Regions from separate parts of the Homo sapiens genome. Here regions 1, 2, 3, 4, 5 and 7 are each linked to region 6. Evidence: promoter capture Hi-C in 16 types of primary human blood cells and fetal thymus (Javierre and others, 2016). All regions are on one chromosome and are shown on one strand. The core of a region is centred on a gene start or on the middle of the fragment in contact, and the rest is flanking DNA. Distances in the headings are between cores, read along the strand shown.

Region 1 (3,144 bases), core at 297-2,796, 660 kb after region 6:
TACAATCACTGCCCCTAGAGGTCTGTCTCTTACTCACTCCATCCAGCTGGGCTTTTCTCCCTCACCAAGAAATTAATGCAACTTCTAGCGTTCTCTCTCTTTCTCTCTCTCTTTCTCTCTCTCACTCTCTCTGCCATGTGCAGAAAGAAGATGTAACTTCGTAAAGTTGCACCATTTAAGCAAAAACCTGCATCCAGGAGCCATGTGGCTAATTTTTCCCAAGGGCTGAGGTTCCTTGGAGCCTCAGCATTGTCCTGCATCCCTCACCTCCCCACATCACCCTCCCTGTAGGAACCAAGACAGTCATTAGGGATCCCAATGACTTGTATTTGTCATTTTCATCCCTGCCTTCCTCCGTGCCATTCTCAGAGCCCAGCTATTCCTTATGGACCCTTTATCCAGTGCCAAACTACCCAAACTTCCAGGGAGAGGAAGGATCCCAGAGACCAAATGCTTTCCAGGAAAAGAGGGGAAAGAGGCAAATGCATCCAGAGAATCAAACCTGACCTCTCTCTGCCCTCACCACATCCTCCTCCCTAGGATGGTGATATGGTTTTGCTGTGTCCCCACCCAAATCTCATCTTGAATTGTAGCTCCCATAATCCCATGTGTTGTGGGAGGAACCCTGTGGGAGATAATTGAATCATGGGGGCAGTTTCTCCCACACTGTTATCGTGGTAATGAACAAGTCTCACGAGATCTGATGGTTTTATAAGTGGAAACCCCTTTTGCTTGGTTCCCATTCTCTCTTGCCACCACCATGTAAGACGTGCCTTTCCCCTTCCACCATGAGTGTGAGGCCTCCCCAGCCATATGAAACTGTAAGTCCACTAAATATCTTTTTCTTTATGAATTACCCAGTCTCAGGTATGTCTTTATCAGCAGCGTGAAAACACACTAATAAAGATGGGCAGCTACTGCCCAAATCCCTGAGCTGTGTCAAGCTGTGGGGTTACAAATCCACAGAACACCCTGTAAACCTCAGAGGTGTATAGCACCAATATGTGCTGACACTACAGAAAAAGAAGTGGCTGGTGTGCTGCCTTCCAAAAGCTTACAATCAAGTTAGGAAAGGCAAGGGTGGCACACATTTAAACAATAAAGAAATAAATAGCATCATGGCATATAACAGTGGAAATTATGTGGCATAGGCTCTGAATCAGTTTTTTTTTTTAGCATGCATAAGAGCACCTGAAAAACGTATTTAAAGCACAGATTCCTGAGCCTCACTCCCAGATATTTTTATTTAGTACCTGTGGAGTAGGTTTGTGATCTTTTTAAGAAAAATCCGGTCGGGCATGATGGCTCACGCCTGTAATCCCACCACTTTGGCAGGCCAAGGCAGGTGGATCACTTGAGGTCAGGGGTTCAAGACCAGCCTGGCCAACATGGTGAAACTCTGTCTCTACTAAAAATACAAAAATTAGCCAGGCATGGTGGTACGTGCCTGTAATCCCAGCTACTTGGGAAGCTGAGGCAGGAGAATCGCTTGAACCCAGGAGGTGGAGGTTGCAGTGACCCAAGATCGTGCCACTGCACTCCAGCCTGGGCAACAGAGCTATAGACTCCACCTCAAAAAAAAAAGAAAAAGAAAAAGAAAAAGAAAAAGAAAAATCCCAGGTGATTTTGATGGTAGGATGCCAAGAAAATAGCACAAAGATATAGCACAATAGTTACCATGGATTACAGGAGCTTTCATTGCAACAACCAAATCACAACTAAAACTACTTAAAACTATCTGTTTTCTATGCTAGCCAGTTCCATTACTGCACCAGGCACCACACTTAGCAAAAACAATTGCTCTATGTTGCCCAAAGTATTTTTCCATAACTGAAAGACACCTGAAAAAGGAAGAAAAGATGAATTGTCTTAGTGAGACTCATATGAATTTTTCAGTTGCTACAAGAGGTAATTAATTAGAGGGCACTTTTGGTGTCTTGTCATCTTGATCAATCTGGCTTAGCCTCCAGGGCTATCAACCTCAGAGCTGGAAACACTTATTCCCCAGGCCAAATATGCTGCCCCCACCTAGATCCCAGCAAAGCTTAGTGACCTCTCCTAAACCACAGCCAGCTACACATGAGCTCTTGCCATCCCACCTGCAAGGAAAGAGCCATGCAATTTAAAGATGGAAGAGATTGTGGTCATCATTTTACATTTTACGAACCTCTTCATTTTACAAGTAAAGAAATAGAGACCCAGAGACCCAAAGGCACAGGGCTAATGCCATCTCTCCTGGAAGTCAGATAGGAAGAGTCCTCACACCCCCTGCAGCCAAAATACAGTCATCCACACTTACCCTTTTAGGAAGAGGGTGACAGATGGGAGAGTAGTGTTTTTCCTTGCCACCTAGCCTTGTCTGTTTCCAAATCACTTATCAATTCACTCAGCAGCCTTGTCAGAGAAATATCTTGAGCCCTGCGGGGGGCCCAAGAAGAGGGAATAGGGCTAAGTGACTTCCAATGAGTGGGAGTGACTTCCCAATAGGACAGAGGATGTCAGGCAGGAAACGCACGTTCATGGGGTCACTGTCTCCCTGCACAAAGCCCAGAGCTGAAGGGAAGAGGGAAGGCAGCAGACCAAAGCAAGGAAGCAGGTCAGGCTTCGAGTTCAAGGTTTCTTTTCTATAGATTCTAGGGGAAGAGGAGCTCACCAAAAAGAGAGAGAAAGAAAAGGAGAGGGGGGTGGAAGAAAATGCCCCATGTACACCTAAAAGGTCTGGCAGGGCACAGTTTGCCTAAATACCCCAAGATGCTTCTCAGCAGCCCAGCGACATGCACAGTAGGTCTGGACTGTCAGGGGCAGGCAGGTCAGGACTGGGAGGTGAGGCTGGCCTCCAGGTTGCAGTGCCAGAGGTGTGGCCAGGCCAGGACGGGGAGGCTCTTCCGGCTGATGCCCACCCCCACTCTGCAGCTGCTCTCCCTCTCCACTCTGCCCTGCTTCACTCCCACCTTTTTCCTGGTTTGGGTTCAAACCCTAGCAACTAGCTCCAACAGATAACAACACCTGCCCACTCAGCAAACTGGCGTGCAGTCAAGAGACCGCCACACAATTGACTCTTCTGACACAGCACCTTTTGTTGCAGCCAAGATGTTTGAGAGGGAGAGAGTGAGGACACAGCTCAGTGGACCGGCTCCTGGCAAC
Region 2 (2,974 bases), core at 118-2,617, 560 kb after region 6:
AAGCCCTTGTGTTTGACATATAGAGCTGCCTAACAATTGCACAGAGATGTTGCTCCATAAAGGGAACCCACATGGAATCTCACAGTCATCCACACAGCCTCACCTTGGTGCCATTTTGAGACCTAGATACCAGAGATCTACAGACATGGCTGCTGCCATTGCATTGCTCCAAGGAGAGACAGGGGAGACCAGGCACTTCCATGCACCCCTGGAAGGGTCCCTACTGCCCTGCTGCAGGCTGCTGTTGAGACTGAGACGTGAGTGGATTGCACTCCCCACAGCTTCTTGCCCATGCTGCTTGCTTGAAGGGAGCTTGCCCTTTCTGGTCTCAGCCCCAAGGCACCATTTTGAGAGTTTAACACTGGGCTGTGCCCTAATCTCAGGCTGAATTCAGGCTGAATCACTGCAGCTGCCAACTAGCCAAGAATGAACAGGGAACAAGGCTATCCTATGCATGCATACCTAGGACAATACTCACCATCCTGCTACACACTGCTGTGAGATTAAGACTAAGTGGACCACACTCCCCACAGCTTCTTTTCTATGCTGGTTACCTGAGGGAGGGCTGAGGGCCCCACCCTCTCTGGTCACAAGCCCAGAACTGGCATAATTTTGAGGGTTTAACTGTGGGTTGTGACGCACTTTCAGGCTGAGTTCAAGGAGATGTGGCTGCAGCCAACACCCAGCCAGGGGAAGGACAGAGAAGGCCAAGCTTTCCTAAACACACTTAGCACAATACACACCACCCTACTATGAGTGGCTGTGGAACCAGGAACTAGCCCACCCAACCCATCACAGCTGGTAGGAACACCAACATGGACTACTTGAGTACCAGTGGGTTGCTCCACCACCACTACTGCCATCACCCACACTGTACCAGATGCCCAGGGGCCTGAGAATTCACCCACACACATGAAACACCACTCCCACTACTAGCTTCTAAGCAAGCCACATAGAGGCCCAAGGATTAGCCCTTCAAGACCCACTAACAACAAAGCCAGTTTATGCTGCTCTGGAGCTTAAAACAGGAACATTCACTCCACTGCTGTAACTACTGGGGCCTAAAGACTGGTTCAGTTAGCATCTAAGTTTCCAACGAAACTTCGCCACAACCTAAGCTGATAACTATATCCTAAGCCACCAAGGAAATAACAGATATCACTCATCCTATGCACTGCCAAAGAAGTAAGTTTTAAAAATCACACTATTGTAGGTACCCAAAATCAAAGCCAAAATATCCTACTCAACCAACAGCACACATACATCTTTAGGAGAAATTCTCCCCTACAAAAGCAACTTCAAAAAACTGGAACAAGGAACTGCTACATTAGATGTGCAGATACCAATGAAAGGACACAGAAAACATGAAAAAGCAGGGAAATCTGATACCACCAAAGGATCACAACAGCTTTTCAGCAACAAATTCCAATAAAAAATAATTCCTCAAAAATCCAGATAAAGAATTTAAAATATTGATTATTAAGAAGCTAAGTGAGATGCAATAGAAATCTGAAAATCAATACAAAGAAACCAGAAAACCAATTCAGGATATAATGAGAAATTTACCAAGAAGATATCTTTAAAAAAAATTTTTGGAACTAAAAAATCCAGTGAAGAAAATACAAAATACATTCAAAAATCTCAATAACAGACTAGACCAAGCAGAAGAAAGAATCTTAGAACTTAAAGACAGTTTTTTTTATATCAACCAGTCGGACAAAAATAAGGAAAAAAAAATAAAAGAAGCAACAAAGCCTTTGAGATGTCTGGGACTACCTAAGCCAACCAAACTTAAAAATTATTGGTATTCCCAAGGGGGAAGATAAAACAAAAAGTTTAGAAAACCCATTTAAGAGAATAATCAATGAAAACTTCCCAAGTCTAGCAAAAGAGTCAGACATTCAGATCTAGGAGCCCCAGCAATTCCAGACAGATACATTGCAAAAAGGACTTCAGCACTACATATTATACTCGGACTATCTAAAGTCAACATGAAAGAAAGATTTTAAAATTAGCCAAGAGAAAAGCTTCTAGTAATCTATAAAGTAAACCCCATCACATTGGCAGCAGACCTTTTCAGCAGAAATCTTACAGAACAGAAGAGAATGAGATGGCATTTTCAAAATGCTGGAAGAAAAAAAAACTGTCAGCCAAGAATTTTATATCCTATCAAGATAAGTTTCACCAATGAAGAAGAAATAAACTATTTCCCAGATAAACAAATGCTGAGGGAATTTTTTACTACTAGACCAGCCCTACAGGAAATGTTCAAAGGTGTCTTAAGCATGGAAACAAAAGGTTGATATTCACCATCACAAAAACATATAGAAATATAAAACTCACAGTTTTTATAAAGCAATCACACAAGGGAGGAAGAGAAAGGAATCAAATGGCAACACAACAGAACTTCGGTTATGGGAGAAATCATAGCAAACAGTCTCTCAGACCACAGTGCAATCAAATTAGAACTCAGGATTAAGAAACTCACTCAAAACCACACAATAACATAGAAATGAACAACCTGCTCCTGAATGACTCTTGGGTAAATACGGAAATTAAGGCAGAAATCAAGAAGTTCTTTGTAACCAATGAGAACAAAGAGACAATGTACCAGAATCTCTGGGACACAGATAAAGCAATGTTAAGAGTGAAATTTATAGCACTAAATGCCCACATCAGAAAGCTAGAAAGATCTCAAATCGACACCCTAACATCACAATTAAAAGAGCTGGAGAGGCAAGAGCAAACTAATCCAAAAGCTAGCAGAAGACAAGAAATAACTAAGATCAGAGAAGAATTGAAGGAGATAAAGACATGAAAAGCCCCCCAAAAAAATCCATGAACCCAGGAGCTGCTTTTTTGGGAAAAAAATAACAAAATAGATAGACCACTAGCTAGACTTATAAAGAAGAAAAGAAAGAAGAATCAAATAGACACAATAAAAAATTATAAAGGAGACATCACTACTGACCCC
Region 3 (3,061 bases), core at 162-2,661, 590 kb after region 6:
GGACTCAGATAACATGAATATTATTTGTTCTTTGCCTGTCTTCCATTTTTACTACTTTCTGAGACTTTTTACCTTTTTCTCTACTCATTTTCATTTCTTTGGTGTCTTCCTGTTTTCCTGCCCCTTCTTAAATGTTCATTTGGTCCATTCTCCCTTGTACATCTTGTAATTTATTCTTCATTTCTGAGACAATTTTGTCTTTTTCTACCATTTCTTTCCTGAGTTTAAGGAACTCTTTTTTTTCTCCCTGTTTTTTGTTCCATTTCTGCTCTTAATTTTTGAATTCCAGATCCTCAAATGCTTGCTTCACCTTCATGCACCAAATAATGGCATCTCAGTCAACAATGGACCACATAGAGGACAGTGGTTCCATAAGATTTTAATGGAGCTGAAAAATTCCTATCACCTAGTGATGTCGTAGCCATTGCAATGTCATAGCACAATGCATTCCATGTTTGTGGCAATGTGGGTATAAACAAACTTACTGTGTTGCCAGTCATATAAAAGTCTTGCACATACAATTATGTGCAATAAATAATGCTCGATCATGATACTAAATGACTGTTACTGGTTTATGTATTTACTGTACTGTACTTTCATCACGTTAAAGTGTACTCCTACTTATTTTTTTTTAAGTTAACTGTAAAACAGCCTCAGGCAGGTCCTTCAGGAGGTATTCCATAAGAAGGCATTGTTATCACAGGAGATGACAGTTCCATGCATGTTTCTGTCCCTGAAGACCTCCCAGTGGGACAAGATGTGAAAGACAGTGATACTGATGATCCTGACTCTGTGTAGGCCTAGGCTCATGTGTGTGTTTGTGTCTTCATTTTTAAGAAAAAAGTTTTAAAAATAAAAATAGAAAAAAGCTTATAGAACAAGGATATAAAGACAGAAAATATTTTTGTACAGCTATGCAATATGTGTTTTAAGCTAAGTGTTATTACAAAAGAATCAAAAAGCTTTTAAAAATTAAACATTTATAAAGTAAAAAAAGTTATAGTAAGTTAAAGTTACTTTTGTGATTGAAGAAACATTGTTTCATAAAGTTAGCTTAGTCTAAAGGGGCAGTAATGTCCTAGGCCTTCACATTACTCACCACTCACTCACTGACCCACCCAAACAACATCCTGTCCTGCAAACTCCATTCATAGGGAGTGCCCCACACAGGTACCCCATTTTTATGCTGCATTCTTACTGTACCTTTTCTATATTTAGTTATGTTTAGATACAGAAATATTTCCCATTATGTTCCAATTACCTACAGTATTGAGTCCAGTAACCTGCTATACAGGTTTGTAGCCAAGGAGCAATAGGCTAGACCACACAGCCCAGGTGGGTAGTAAGTATACCATCTGGACTTGCATAAATAAACTCTATGATGGTCACACAACACAATGACAAAATCGCCCAATGACGCATTTCTCAGAACTTATCCCCATCGTGAAGCGAAGCATGACTGTATATTTAATTCATTTTGGAACGTAGACCTACAATTTTCTTCTGCTTCATGGTTGTTTTTCAGGAAGGGACTTTTTCTCAGTTGATTTGCATGCAAATGCATTCCCTCATTTTCTGAACTATTTCTCTAAAAACTTTCCTTTTATTCATTTCTATGATACTGCAGTATTTTAGAAGATTTCTCATTTAATTTCTTTTCTGTCTGGAAAAGTCCAGGTACTTCAGTGGGGTTTCATCTGTTTGTTTGTTTTGGTGGCATGGGCAGGTTAGGAGGCTGCCAGTTTTTAGTTCTCTTTTGTCTTGTAGGACAATAAAATTCCTCTTTTTTCTTTTCCTCTTCACCACCCAAGTTCCAAAGCATGCTTCTTCCTTCCTTCTCTTTTGCCTTTTTCTCTCCCAGAAGCTTTTCTCCCCAAAAGACCATCCTTTTAAATCAGATTTTCCCATTTAAAGAATGTCTATCCCTTTAAACAGTATGTCTAGTCCAAAGAAGAAATACAAATGGCCAACAAACATATGGAAAAATGTTCAACATCATTAATCATCAAGAAAATGCAAATTAAAACCACAATGAAATACCATCTTACCCTAGCCAGAATGGTTATTATTAAAAACTCAAAAAGCAAGAGGGCTGAATACGTCGGATCCCTTCTCTGCTGTCACGCTCTGAATATTTTCAGATTTCAGGTGGATTTCATCCTGCTGGGGGTCGCTCCACACTCAGGCCGCTTCACTGGCGTCCACTCTGCATGTTCCCCTGAGCTTGTTTCATCTGCCTTTGCCTGCTTCCAAACCCCACCATGTGAGGCAGGAGCATGTGGGACAATGGCTCTGGTGTTTGTTGACTTTTCTCTTTTTACTCACAGTTATTGTACAGTTTCTGCATTCGTTGACATTAATGTGGAGAGATGGTTGTCAGAATATTTTCTTTTTCTTTTTCTTTTTTTTGTTTTTTGTTTTTTGTTTTTTGTTTTTTTTTATGGAGACTTGCTCTGTCACCCAGGCTGGAGTGCAGTGGTGCAATCTCTGCAACTTCTGCCTCCTGGGTCCAAGGAATTCTCCTGCCTCAGCCTCCTGGGTAGCTGGGACTATAGGCGTACGCCACCATACCTGGCTAATTTTTGTATTTTCAGAGAAACGGGGTTTTGCCATGTTGGCCAAGCTGGTCTCGAACTTCTGGCCTCAAGCAATCTACCCACCTTGGCCTCCCAGAGTGCTGGGATTACAGGTGTGAGTCACCATGCCAGGCCAGTTGTAGCATTTTCACAGATGTAAAGTTATCTCATTTGGGAAGGGGACTAGGTGAATAATTTACTACACTCTACAATTTGTCTATAGCACCCTGAATCCCCACTTTTTTTTTGAGATGGAGTCTCACTCTGTCCCTGAGTCCCCACTTTCAAAGGGCTCATTAAAGTATAATATCCATACAAAAAGTGTACATATCACAAGTGCAGATCCCAATTAATGTTCACAAACTGCACGCACCTTTGTGTCCAGCCCAACGGCCAGGGAAAAGAGCTTTCTAGCACCATGGAACCCTCCTGTGTTCCCTCTCAGTTGCCACCCCTGCCCCTCACCAAGGGTAACCACAGCATGG
Region 4 (2,868 bases), core at 41-2,540, 690 kb after region 6:
GGGATTACAGGTGGCCACCACCATGCCCGGCTAATTTTTGTATTTTTAGTAGAGATGGAGTTTCAACCATGTTGGCCAAACTGGTCTCAAACTCCTGACCTCAGGTGATCCTCCTGCCTCAGCCTCCCAAAGTGCTCACAGGCATGAGCCACTGCACCCCGCCCCAATCTGTGTTTCTATTATCAAAGTCTCATCCTTTGAATGTGTCTTCCTCTAACAACTTCAAAATAGGATCCCTGTTCTGAAGTAAGTATTACATTGAGCCTTACAAAACTACCAATCTAATAATTTTTTATCTACAAACATGGCGATTGTCAGGCCTCTGAGCCCAAGGTAAGCCATCATATCCCCTGTGACCTGCACGTACACATCCTGATGGCCAGTTCCTGCCTTAACTGATGACATTCCACCACACAAGAAGTGAAAATGGCCTGTTCCTGCCTTAACTGATGACATTGTCTTGTGAAATTCCTTCTCCTGGCTCATCCTGGCTCAAAAGCTCCCCTACTGAGCACCTTGTGACCCCCACTTCTGCCCACCAGAGAACAACCCCCCTTTGACTGTAATTTTCCTTTATCTACCCAAATCCTACAAAACGGCTCCACCCTTATCTCCCTTCGATGACTCTCTTTTCGGACTCAGCCCACCTGCACCCAGGTGATTAAAAGCTTTATTTCTCACACAAAGCCTGTTTGGTGGTCTCTTCACACGGACGCGCATGAAAGCGATTTTGTGGTTCAACTTAATATACTGGCCCTCAGAGTCTTTTGGAAAGGGATTGAGTTTTTTTAAGCATACAAATAAAGAATAATAATAATAAATGTAATAACTAACATTATTGAAGCATTCATTTAACCCTCACAACATTTAACACTCTCATTTCACAGATGTGAAAACTGAGCATAAAGAAGTTGAGTAAGGCCGGGCACAGTGGCTCATGCCTGTAATCCCAGAGGCCAAGGTGAGAGGATCGCTTGAGGCCAGGAGTTCAAGACCAGCCTGGGCAACATAGTGAGATGTTTCTATAAAAACTTTTTTTTATTATTTGTTTTTACTTTTTAAAAATTAGTGCACACATGTAGTACCATCTGCTTGGGAGACTGAATAGGAGATCACTTGAGCCTGGGAGATTGAGGCTGCAATGAGCCAAGAATGCACTACTGCACTCCAGCCTCAGTGACAGAGCAAGACCCTGTCTCCAAAAAAAAAAAAGGTTGAGTACTCTTCTCAAGGTCACAGACTGGCAAAGGCTAGATTCAACACAGGCTTGTCTGATACACAGCCATTAACCACTGTGCTGTATTTTCCGAAAAGTTTTTGTTGATAATGAAGGGACTCCCTCTGACCCCATATACTTTTCTAGGCATTGAAACTTTTACTTCTTCCACTGAGATCCCATAAGGGATAAAGTTGCACATGGGCACTAAGGGTGAGTCTACTGTAGGCAAAACAGGTATTGTGTGGGTGCACACATGTGCACATGCAGCATGCTCCTGTGGAAGTGTGTGCCATGTATGGAAATTAGGCTATGATCGTATGGTATGGACAACGACCTTTGATAGATTAGAATACTGAAGATTTCTAATTTTATGAACAGGACAGACTCAATGTCTTGAAAACTCTCCCACCATTAACACAGAGGAATGCCAGATGTAACATCCATTTGAATGCATAGCAACCAGCTGCGGTGGCTCATGCCACCCCATCTCTACTAAAACTACAAAAATTAGCCAGGCATGGTGGTACATGCCTGTAATCCCAGCTAATCAGGAGGCTGAGGCAAGAGAATTGCTTGAACCTGGGAGGCAGAGGTTGCGGTGAGCCGAGATTGCACCACTGCACTCCAGCCTGGGTGACAGAGTGAGACTCTGTGGAAAAAAAAAAAAAAAAGTAAAAACATTTGAATGCATAGTTAAGCTTACAAGAAAGTAGGAGAAATCCCCAGAGCTCAGCAATGAAGATTTGGTTTCTGAAAACCAGAGCATTATGTGAGTGAGCTGATGTGGCAACTAACCTGGATTGGTCGGGTTTATCTCCAACTTACGAAACGTTAGGAATTTGGTTTTAACATGTACACAATGATAAAGTGAAAGATCTTGAGACTGCCAAGTAGGAAGCTGAAGTAAGACCCACCCATCCTCCCTCCCCTGACTCCACATACAGCACAGGAAGAGTGGACTAGAAAAATATCTCTCTACCAGCATAACGAAATGACGTAGAAGTTTGTCTCTTCTGGCCTACCTAGACTCTGAATAGAAAAAGAAAAAAAAAGAAAAAAAATTAGTTTCCTCATCGGAAAGTCAATTATGGGTCAATGCCATGTGAGGACCCAGGAACCCCCAAGCCAAAAAATTAACACATAAATAGATCCTAGGATGGCTACATCACTGGAGCACCTGGCAGAAGAAAACCACACAGGAGGGACACACTCACCACCATTCTTACAAATAGAGCCCTGCTGAAGATGAACTCATAACATACAATCACACAACTCAGTACTTAATAATCCATCGTGAGCAAGAGCCAGCAGAAGTAACAAGCATGTAATAAAGTTCATTAGACTCTCAGAGCTTCAGGTTCCTGAATAATCAAATGAAGATGATAAAACAATTAAAGACATAAAGGAGAAAAGTAAACATAGAAGACAGTATAGAAAGGAAAAAAAAACTTCTGAAATGAAAAATGGAATCACTGAAACAGAAAACCCATTAGTCAAATTTGGCATCAGCTTAGACACAACTGAAAAGAGAAGAGTAGACTATGATAGGGCTCAGGAAATTGCCCAGAATGCAAAAGAAATAAAACACGGAAAGGGTTCAAGAGAGTTTAAGAGACACAGAAGAGAGAATGAGAAAATAAATATATATC
Region 5 (2,934 bases), core at 316-2,815, 630 kb after region 6:
ATGAACAGCTCCCACAGCCATTAAGTCCAGGACCATCGTGCCTTATTAGGTCTCTGAGATGACATTGCTTCTTCATGACTTCCCAGCAAAACAAATTTTTTTCTTAAAAAAAAAAAATCACAACTTTCTTCACCCTCACCATTTGTACCAGGTATTGAATAACTATTCCCCATTAAGTTTGTGGAAAAAGTCACTCTTTCATTGAAGCTTCATATTGTGAACCCTTTGCAACTGCATTAAGCCTTCATAGGTTTGCATCGTTATCCATTGCTCCTAATTAGTGTCTGATGACCCAAGAAGAAAAGACTTTATATCTTCCTGTTTGTTTCATGCACCAACCTATCTACAAATGCACCCGATTTTTGGCTCTTCCCCACCTGTATTTATTCTCTTCACCATAGCTGACACAGGCAATGAGAAGGTAAAGATTTGTACTTTTGTGGGTCATTTTGTCCAAGGAATTCAAAGCAATGACAGTAGGCTAGGAAGAACCCAGGAATTCAATTCAGAAGACATCATTTCAAAGCCCAGTGCTCCCACTTACTTGCCAGGGCCAAATCGGGCAGGTTGTATTCCTTCTATGAGTCTCAGATCCTTTTTGTTAATATCTGCCTCTCAATGCCGTTTCATGACTAAATAAAATTATATGTGTTAGTATGATAGTGTAGTGTTTGGCATATAGCGGGCACCCCTTAAATGTTAGTTATTAAATGTGGACTCAGCATTTTCCAATGGGTCATTTTCTTGCCTGGCGCTATCCAGGCTGCCTCCTGATGCTTGCAAAGTCCTACAGTCTTCAGAGAAGATCTGTAACCCCATGAGTCTCTAGAAGTGACTCCTGAGAGAACACTATTCATGGTGTGTTTATTAAAGAACCAGCTGAGTGCAGTGGTGCCTGCCTGTAATCCCAGCTACTAGACAGGCTGAGGCAGGGGGATCACCTGAGCCCAGGAGTTTGAGACCAGCCATGGCCACATAGCAAGTCCCTGTCTCAAAAAGAGAGAGGGAGAGGGAGAAGGAGAGGGAGAGGGAGAGGGAGAGGGAGAGAGAGAGAGAGAGAGAGAATTGCTAAATATAGTTTTGTAATATGATTGCTTTTTGTTGCTTGGATAAGTTAATCACATGTATGACTTCTGAAACATTGATACAATGTCTACTTTCTCATGAATTTTAATGAAATGGTTTGAGGTTGAGTTTTGTTTATTGTTGTTGTTTTGTTTTATGTTTTTTGTTTTGAGATGGAATATCGCTCTGTCCCCCAGGCTGGAGTGCAGTGGCGCGATCTCAGCTCACTGCAAGTTGCGCCTCACGGGTTCACACCATTCTCCTGCCTCAGCCTCCCAAGTAGCTGGGACTACAGGCGCCTGCCACCAAGCCTGGCTAATTTTTTGTATTTTTAGTAGAGACGGGGTTTCACCGTGTTAGCCAGGATGGTCTCCATCTCCTGACCTCGTGATCTGCCCGCGTCAGCCTCCCAAAGTGCTGGGATTACAGGCGTGAGCCACCGCACCAACCTGTTTGTTTTTGAGACAGGGTCTCGCTCTGTCACCCAGGATGGAGTACAGTGGTGTGATCATGACTCACTGCAGCCTCAACCTCCTTGACTCAAGAGATCCTCCCACCTCAGCCTCCCAAGTAGCTGGGACTACAGGCAGGTGCCACCACACCCAACTAATTTTTGTATTTTTTGTAGAGACAGGGTTTCACCATGTTGCCCAGGCTGGTCTGGAACTCCTGGGCTCAAGAGATTCCCCCATCTCGGGCTCCCAAAGTGCTAGAATTACAGACATGAGCCACCATGCCCATCTGAGATTTTTTTTAAACATTATTAGTGGGGGGATAGAAGTAAGGTGAGAGTGTTGCTTTGATTTTTACTTTGCACACTGGTGAGTTGAAGACCCATGTTCTTTGTAGACCACAGATGTTCACACCCCTTAGGTGTGGAAATGAATTAGTCCAGGTATCTATGGCACAGTTTCTCTTCTGAAAAGTTTATCCAAGAACTAAATACTATTTTTTAAAAAATGCTACAACAGAGGGAGCAGAGAAGAAAAAAGAGGACAAGGGGGAGAAAAGGAAAGAAGGAGAAAGAGAGGGATTTACTGAACTTAGAGTATTTGTTTCCAGGACACTCAGTCAGATGGTTAATATCAAATGTCAACTTGATTGGATTGAAGGATGCAAAGTATTGTTCCTGGGTGTGTCTGTGAGGATGCTGCCAAATGAGATTAACATTTGAGTCTGTGGGCTTCGAGAGGCAGACCCACCCTCAATCTGGTTGGGCACCATCTAATCAGCTGCCAGCACTGCTAGAATAAAGCAGGCAGGAGAAGATGGAAGAGCAGACTTACTGAGTCTTCTGGCCCTCATCTTCCTCTTGTATCGGATGCTTCCTGCCCTCGAACATCAGACTCTCAGCTCTTCAGCTTTGGACTCTTAGACTTACACCAGTGGTTTGCCAAGGGCTCTCAGGCCTTTGGTCACAGACTGAAGGCTGCACTGTTGGTTTCCCTACTTTTGAGGTTTTGGGACTCAGACAGTTCCACCACTGGCTTCCTTGTTATTCAACTTGCAGACGGCCTGTTGTGGGACTTTACCTTGTGATTGTCTGAGTCAATTCTCCTTAATAAACTCCCATCATATATACATATATCCTATTAGTTCTGTCCCTCTAGAGAACGCTGACTAATACACTTGGCCTGGGCAAGTGGGGTTTACCCTGATGTTAGGTCTGAGTGGACTCCGAACCTGGACTTGCCCTCTGCCCAGGTCCTTGGCTCATTTCTTAAGAAGCACTCAAACTTCTTTTCATCTTGGAGTCCTGGTTCTAACTCTCTGTGCTAACAGCCAGGTGTGCAAATGGAAGGAGTGTCGCTGGTCCGGTTGGTGCCAATGTTGACCTCTCTTCTCGCATAATCCCAACTGAAGCTTCCA
Region 6 (3,200 bases), core at 46-2,545:
ACCTCGGCGCCCACCCCTCTTCACCTTTTCTCCACCTCTGGGATTCTCCCGGTCCGGCTCAGTGTAGGGCCCCAGCACGCCAAACCAACAGGCCTATCTTGTCCCCACGCGCCCCGTGGTACTTGGAAACTGTTCCCGGGACTCAAGATGGACCGCGCAGAGGAGTCGCTTCATCCTCGAGGCTAGGACCGTTAATGTCAATAAACGGGGCCTCGCTAGGACGGTGCGGAATTGCAGGTGACCGGAGAAACCCGTCCGCACTTTCCCTGAGGACTTGAACCTCGCACTTGCACAGAAACCTTGCAAACCCCTACACACCAACACACACAAAGGGGCGCGCGGGGATCCCCGCAACCACGAATCACGCCGGGGACTCCTTCCCGTGCCAATAAGGCGCAGGCCGCCAAGACCCCCTCCATCTCCCCGACTCCAGCTAGCGCCCGGAGCCCTCGTTTACCTTTGAGCAGGCAGATGTCGGTGCGCTCGGCGTTGCGGCGCAGCGCCTGCACCACCAGCGACACGGTGCTGTCCTCGCGGAGGCTCTCGGCGCGCGGGCTGCGCTCGTCGTAGACGATGACCGCCGAGTAGAGGCCGGAGCGCAAGCGGGCGCGTACCTCCTCCTCGGCGGGCAGGATCTGCTCCAGGCTCACGGAGCCCTTAGCCCGCCGCCGCACGATGGTGTTACAGCGCACGTTGACCGAACCTAGGATGTAGCCCGCGCTGTGCGCCAGGAACGGTCTGCAGTCCAGCAGCAGGCACTTGCCGCCGCTCGGCAGCCCCAGGGTGCCGTGGCTGCCGCTGCCGCCCGCGCCGCCGCCATTCTCGTCCCGGTTCATCAGCCTTTTGAGCACACTGCAGTCCATCTCCCGCAGCTCCTCCATCGTCACCATGGTCGCCGGGAACCGAGGCGGCTGGGCGCGCGAGGAAGAGAAGAGAACCCGGGCCGCCTAGGCTGCAGAAAGGGGCGGGCGAGAGCTAAGAAGGGACGCCTGCAGAAGTGGCCGCAAACTTGGTCCTCAAGGGCTCCCGCGGGAGAGCCTCTTCTTCCCTGTCCCCTTCCTCCCGCAGCCTCGCGGTCACATAGCAGTCGGAGCGGCCTCGGGCGCCCAGCCGGGCGGCGCGCAGAGCGGAGGGGGAGGCGCCGGTGGAGGAGAGTGTGTTTACGAGAGAGGACCGCGGACTCTTTTCGGCGACGGCCTCCCGTGTATTTTTGCCGGTCGCGCGGCTCCTGTCGCCACTGGCGCCAGCGCTGCCCTGCCTACGCTCCTCCGGCGCTCAGCGCACTGCCCCAGCCAGAGTTTTCTCCTCGGCTTAGAGGTTTATTAATGCTCCTCCGCGCTCCCGGGGGAGGGGGCGCTAGGTACTACCCCGCCAGGCCCCGCCCCGTTCCATTCCGGGCCCCGCGCCGTCCCCCGCCCCCCGCGCTGTCCCCCGCCCCCCGCGCTGACTCCCCGCCCCCTCCGGGCCCCTCCTCCCACCCCCTCCCCGGAGCTTGAATGGAGCGCGGCCGCTGGCTCCCGGTCACGGGAACTCGACGTCACAAAGAGCGGAGTAAACAGGGCGCCGGGTGCTCGCCATCAGGCCCATTCATAAAACCGAGGCCGAGAGGAAGAGGGAGGCGGCCTCCGACCCGCCGCCAGCGGCGGGCAGCGCCCGGACTTTGTGAATGGAGCGCGCGGCGCCTTTCGCCGTCTACCCGCGGGCCCAGCCTGCGCCGCGCCTCCAGCCCGACACCGGCACCTGTGCCGCCGCTGCACCCCGCCGCTAGGCGGGCGGCGCCAAAGGAAATAGCCGGCTGAGGAGGCCAGGGCTCGGGTTTGAGCTTTCATCCCTTGGCACCTTCGCGCTTCCCCGCGTGACAGCCCCGTAGGTTTTTCCCGGTTACCCAAGTGGAGAGGGGACCGGAGCGCTGCTGCCCACCCAGCGGGGCCTGACACCTCCTAGCCCCAGACTCCCCGTGCGCTTTCGGCCCGGCCAGTCCTTTCTGAATATGCGATTCCTGAGACGTTAGCGTATGCATTAGCGTGATCGATTTTCATCTAAAGCCATTAAATCAGTTTTATAGCTTCCCCAAGAACGTGGGCAACCCCCTGCTTGGAAGATGAAAGAGAAAGTCCTCCCGCCCGAAGCCCAGGATCGGAGTGAGGTGTGGGGTTTGTTGCTTTACTACCCAAAGGGAGGCATTAATTGCCGGAATGGTGTTCCGAGGGAGGAGAGCAGGCTGCGCTCCTGTCCACGCTTCCTAAAAGATGTTTATTTAACCCTGGTCGGGGGAAAAACAAGGTTTTCGGGTTTGGGAAACGTCTTCACCCTATCTTGCATAGTTGTGAATTATCCTTTCAGGAAATGACAGGGTCCACATTTGTTGCGGAGCTGGACCCTGGAAAATGTACCCGCAAAGAATGACCTTTTGAAAGGACTTCAGCAGCTCTGGGTCCGATTCATGTTTCTGGGCATCCCTTTTTCCTGGTCACGTAGCAGCCCTCCCCATCCCCATTTCTCTTTTGCATTTAATTTCCCAGAGGCGGCTTTTGGCTGGGGGTTTGTGCACGCACGCGGTGGGGACCGTGCAGAAGCCAAAAATCATTCGCCCGACATCTTGCCAAGTCTTGTTAGTGAGAATTAATCACAGAGCAAGGGAGTTACAGGACTCGCTCGCAGTTTCGGAGGCTGCAGAGTAGCGTATTCCATTCCGGGGCGCGCGTGGAAGCCCGACCCAGGCAGCGAGGGCACCGGTACCCGCCGGGTCTCTCCCGCCCAAGCTCACCCTCTCCCCATGCCTTTGTTCCGGGCGGAGCGGCTTTCCCGAGCTCTCACCTCCGGTCCCGGGGGCCATCCCTGCACTCCCCGACCGGAGCTCGGCGGAGCCTCCACTTCCGAGACCTTCGACTGGCCTCGTCCCCCACTGGGCCCCGAATGCCTCGACCCCCGGGCCCTACTCGGATGAGCTGTAGGGGCACCGCTTGGGCAAGGTGATATTTCCTTTTGCTCCGGGCTCCAAAATGGCTTACGATGGCACTGCACGGATCCTTTCTCTTTTTAAAATTTAGTATTTTATTCATCATGGATTTTTTGCATTTTTTTTTCTTTTAAAGAGGCATTGCATCAAGATATTTCTTTTGATTACTGACTTTTCGGCGCCCTTCTTAAATGTTGCGCTCAAGGCTTGTGCTCACCCTAGTCCAGGCCCTGGAAGGAGC
Region 7 (2,880 bases), core at 304-2,803, 610 kb after region 6:
AAGTTTCCAATTCTAGGCAGCGGGATGAAAGAAGGAATAAAAGGCATATACAAACGGTCTCTTAGAGAAATTGTCATAAGCTACTGCCTACTACACTCTAAATCCCACTGGCCAGACTTAGTGATATGGCCACACTTAACTGTAAGGGATAATGGAAAATATCATCTTTAAGCTAGACAGTCATATAACCAGCTAAAAATACCTATTGGTATTGACGAATGGAAAAAATATTAAGGGACAACTAACGGTTTCAACCACAGTTTACCTGAAAATAGAGACCATATCTACTGCGTGGAATTTACTTGGGAAGGGGTCAGAATTAAATGGGAACATACATATAAAGCACCTTGCATAACGCTGCATGAATGAGAATCTCATTCCTTCTTCTCCTCTGTATGCACAAAAATAAGCTTATCCACATTTACCTCTTGTCTACCTTGCATCTTCAGACCTAGATACAATTCATTAACCTTTCCAAGCAGAAAAATTAATATGCCATAATTTCTTCCTATTTTGACTTGCAGATATCAGCAACCAAACACAAAATACTGCTCACTATCTTTCTCAGCCTTGCATAACTGTTAACATTGTATATTTCAAAGCTGCCCCAATGGCATAATAGCAATGAAATTCTGGGTTTACACTGTCTCTGGAATGTGAGCTCCACAAGACCATGGCCTTGCCTGATTCATTCACAGGAAAGTTATAGAAGAATACCTGGCACATAATTGGGCACATTCAATATTGGTTGAAGGAACTGATACTGGGATTATCAAATATATGGGAGAAAATAAGAATTTTCAATATTAAAAAGAAAAGGAGGAAGCCAGCAAGATACATCACTATTGCAAAGCACGTTGGAGCCTTAAATGACAATATTGTGGATCAGATGTTTAGAGAAAACTCTCCCAATACAGTACACTGATAAAAGCTGGATACATTCCAAAATGAAAACTTTTAAACACATGAATGAGCTACCAAGAAAGTAAAGGTATTCTCTGAAGGCCAGAAAAGATAAGAAAGCTCAAATTGAAAGAAATAACTAGTGTTCAAGCTGGAAATTTATTTTGGGGGTCTAAGAAGATAAAGCCTGGGGCCTTAACTGGATGTGAGGTTAAATTGAAGATATTCACTTTTTAAAGCAGCGATCCCAAGAGGGTAAACATCCTTTTCTAAGTGGATGACCTAGGGGGAAAAATACCCCACAGAGGGAGTTAGTAGGATACATTATTATCGCATCTTGGCTCTTGGTGAAGCTAAAAAAGAGAAAGAAAGAAAAAATTCTACCCTAAGAATTCCTAACCACAAATGTACATTTAAGGGATTTAGAATAAGAACTCAAACCACCTCTATAACGAAAAAGAAACCTCAAGCCAAAAATGGAATTTAAAGTGTCCCAGGTGGATAAATGCCCCCAGGCACCTAGAAAAACCAAATGAGCATCCTACCTGAAAAATATATATTTTTAAACCAGGCCTCAAATAAGTCTCACAGACAAAGCTCACAATCAAAAATCACTGAAGACTACAGGAAAGAAACTGCCATGAGGAAGAGGAGGCAGAAACAACAAACCACAGAATCAGAATGGCAAAGACAGTAGATGTTGGAATTACCAAAGATCGACTACAAAATAAGAATGAATAATATTGTTTTTAAAAATATAAATTAAAAGACTGATAGAGAATCAGGGACTATGGAAGGTGACCAAGCAGATATACTAAGAAACCAAATAGAAATTCTAAAAATGAAAATAAAATAACTGAAATTAGAAACTTCATGAAAAGTTTAACAGTAGATTAGACCCAGCTAAAGAGAGAATTAGTGAACTAGAAGAACAGATATACAGATATCTCAGAGTTCTCTTAAAGCCAGCCCTGAGAGACAAGGATTTGAGTGTAAGTAGTTAATTTGGGAGGGGAAAGAAACACCAGTGAAGAAGTGAGTAAAAGGCACAGAGAAGGCAAAGTAGCCAATTAAGGTGATACTGAGCTTTTTACCACTGTGGGAAACTGGAGCTTCATCATGCTGGAGGCACTCCAGAAGCCCATCTAGAACACATACCTCAAGGCTGTCCCACTTGAGCTGCTGTGTTCATTCACCCATCGGTCACTGGTTGAGGGCTGTTCCTGCTAAGCCGTTAATTGCCAGGCACTTCTGACCTTCACAGGAGTGGCAAAGTGGGCTCTGAAAACCAGAGCAATGAAATTCAGATGTTGGCAGTTAAAAGCTAGGCAGACATACTGATGTGGTAAAGACAGAGGGATACATACAGACGGACCACTGACTCCATCCGTTATAGTGGTTTTGAAGAAATTACCCAGAACGCAGCATAGGGAGACAAAGAATTGGAAAATATAAAAGAAATATTAAGATTCATAGAAGATAGAGAATGTGCATATTATATAATCTTGCAATTCCACCCCAGGTATATTACCTAGAGAAACTCCAACACATGGACACTAGGAAGTATGTGTAAGACTTTGCATAGCAGCACAGTTCATAAAAACAAGAAATTTTAAAATATGTCTATCAAGTGTAGGATGGATAAATTGGGGTATATTTTTACAATAGAATTCTACAAAGCAGTAAAAATGAAGAACTGTTCACACACATCAGTAGGAATAAATCCCTCATAGACAGTACTGAACCAAAAAAGCAAGTCACAGAAGAATATGTACAGTATAATTTCATTTATATAAAGCTTAAGAACAGGCAAAATAAATAATATATTGTTTAGGACTTAATTAAAATAACAAATTATTATATAGTATTTATGCCAGATGCTAGTCTGAACACTGTACATATTTAATTAATTGCACTCATTTAATCCTTATAACAACTCTGTGAGATAAGTACTCTTCTTATTCCCAGTTTACAGAT

Evidence for each region. The method cuts DNA at HindIII sites, captures the fragments that hold promoters and counts their contacts. A CHiCAGO score of 5 or more calls a contact.
Region 1: a fragment that was not itself captured here is called in contact with the fragment with the promoter of DUSP4 in region 6 in 16 of 17 cell types (endothelial precursors, M2 macrophages, M0 macrophages and 13 more); the score reaches 30.4 in endothelial precursors.
Region 2: a fragment that was not itself captured here is called in contact with the fragment with the promoter of DUSP4 in region 6 in 2 of 17 cell types (M2 macrophages and M1 macrophages); the score reaches 6.3 in M2 macrophages.
Region 3: a fragment that was not itself captured here is called in contact with the fragment with the promoter of DUSP4 in region 6 in 2 of 17 cell types (M1 macrophages and M0 macrophages); the score reaches 5.5 in M1 macrophages.
Region 4: a fragment that was not itself captured here is called in contact with the fragment with the promoter of DUSP4 in region 6 in 14 of 17 cell types (M2 macrophages, M1 macrophages, M0 macrophages and 11 more); the score reaches 14.0 in M2 macrophages.
Region 5: a contact is called between a fragment that was not itself captured here and the fragment with the promoter of DUSP4 in region 6, in 10 of 17 cell types (M1 macrophages, endothelial precursors, M0 macrophages and 7 more). The highest score is 10.3, in M1 macrophages.
Region 7: a contact is called between a fragment that was not itself captured here and the fragment with the promoter of DUSP4 in region 6, in 9 of 17 cell types (M2 macrophages, M1 macrophages, M0 macrophages and 6 more). The highest score is 7.0, in M2 macrophages.

Annotation. Positions count from the first base shown.
Region 1 is chr8:30,009,397-30,012,540 of GRCh38, forward strand. No RefSeq gene overlaps it. Among named protein-coding and RNA genes, the nearest start is that of MIR3148, 54 kb to the left of the region's middle. The HindIII fragment of the contact is 991 bases long and covers 1,052-2,042 here.
Region 2 is chr8:29,909,722-29,912,695 of GRCh38, forward strand. No RefSeq gene overlaps it. Among named protein-coding and RNA genes, the nearest start is that of LINC02209, 10 kb to the right of the region's middle. The HindIII fragment of the contact is 1,315 bases long and covers 711-2,025 here.
Region 3 is chr8:29,935,610-29,938,670 of GRCh38, forward strand. All of the region lies in intron 2 of LINC02209 (long intergenic non-protein coding RNA 2209), which reads left to right. Among named protein-coding and RNA genes, the nearest start is that of LINC02209, 16 kb to the left of the region's middle. The HindIII fragment of the contact is 902 bases long and covers 961-1,862 here.
Region 4 is chr8:30,034,945-30,037,812 of GRCh38, forward strand. No RefSeq gene overlaps it. Among named protein-coding and RNA genes, the nearest start is that of SARAF, 47 kb to the right of the region's middle. The HindIII fragment of the contact is 1,249 bases long and covers 667-1,915 here.
Region 5 is chr8:29,981,465-29,984,398 of GRCh38, forward strand. No RefSeq gene overlaps it. Among named protein-coding and RNA genes, the nearest start is that of MIR3148, 26 kb to the left of the region's middle. The HindIII fragment of the contact is 2,721 bases long and covers 206-2,926 here.
Region 6 is chr8:29,349,389-29,352,588 of GRCh38, forward strand. DUSP4 (dual specificity phosphatase 4) reads right to left here and starts at 1,296. Exons shown (of 4, transcript NM_001394.7): 1 at 458-1,296. The coding sequence starts at 890. It overlaps LOC124901924 (a long non-coding RNA gene), which reads left to right and starts at 1,586. Exons shown (of 2, transcript XR_007060876.1): 1 at 1,586-2,146. RefSeq lists enhancers at 294-795, 324-473, 796-1,295, 1,994-2,063, 2,104-2,213 and silencers at 1,154-1,473, 1,664-1,803. The HindIII fragment of the contact is 21,736 bases long and covers 1-3,200 here.
Region 7 is chr8:29,963,589-29,966,468 of GRCh38, forward strand. No RefSeq gene overlaps it. Among named protein-coding and RNA genes, the nearest start is that of MIR3148, 7.7 kb to the left of the region's middle. The HindIII fragment of the contact is 2,291 bases long and covers 409-2,699 here.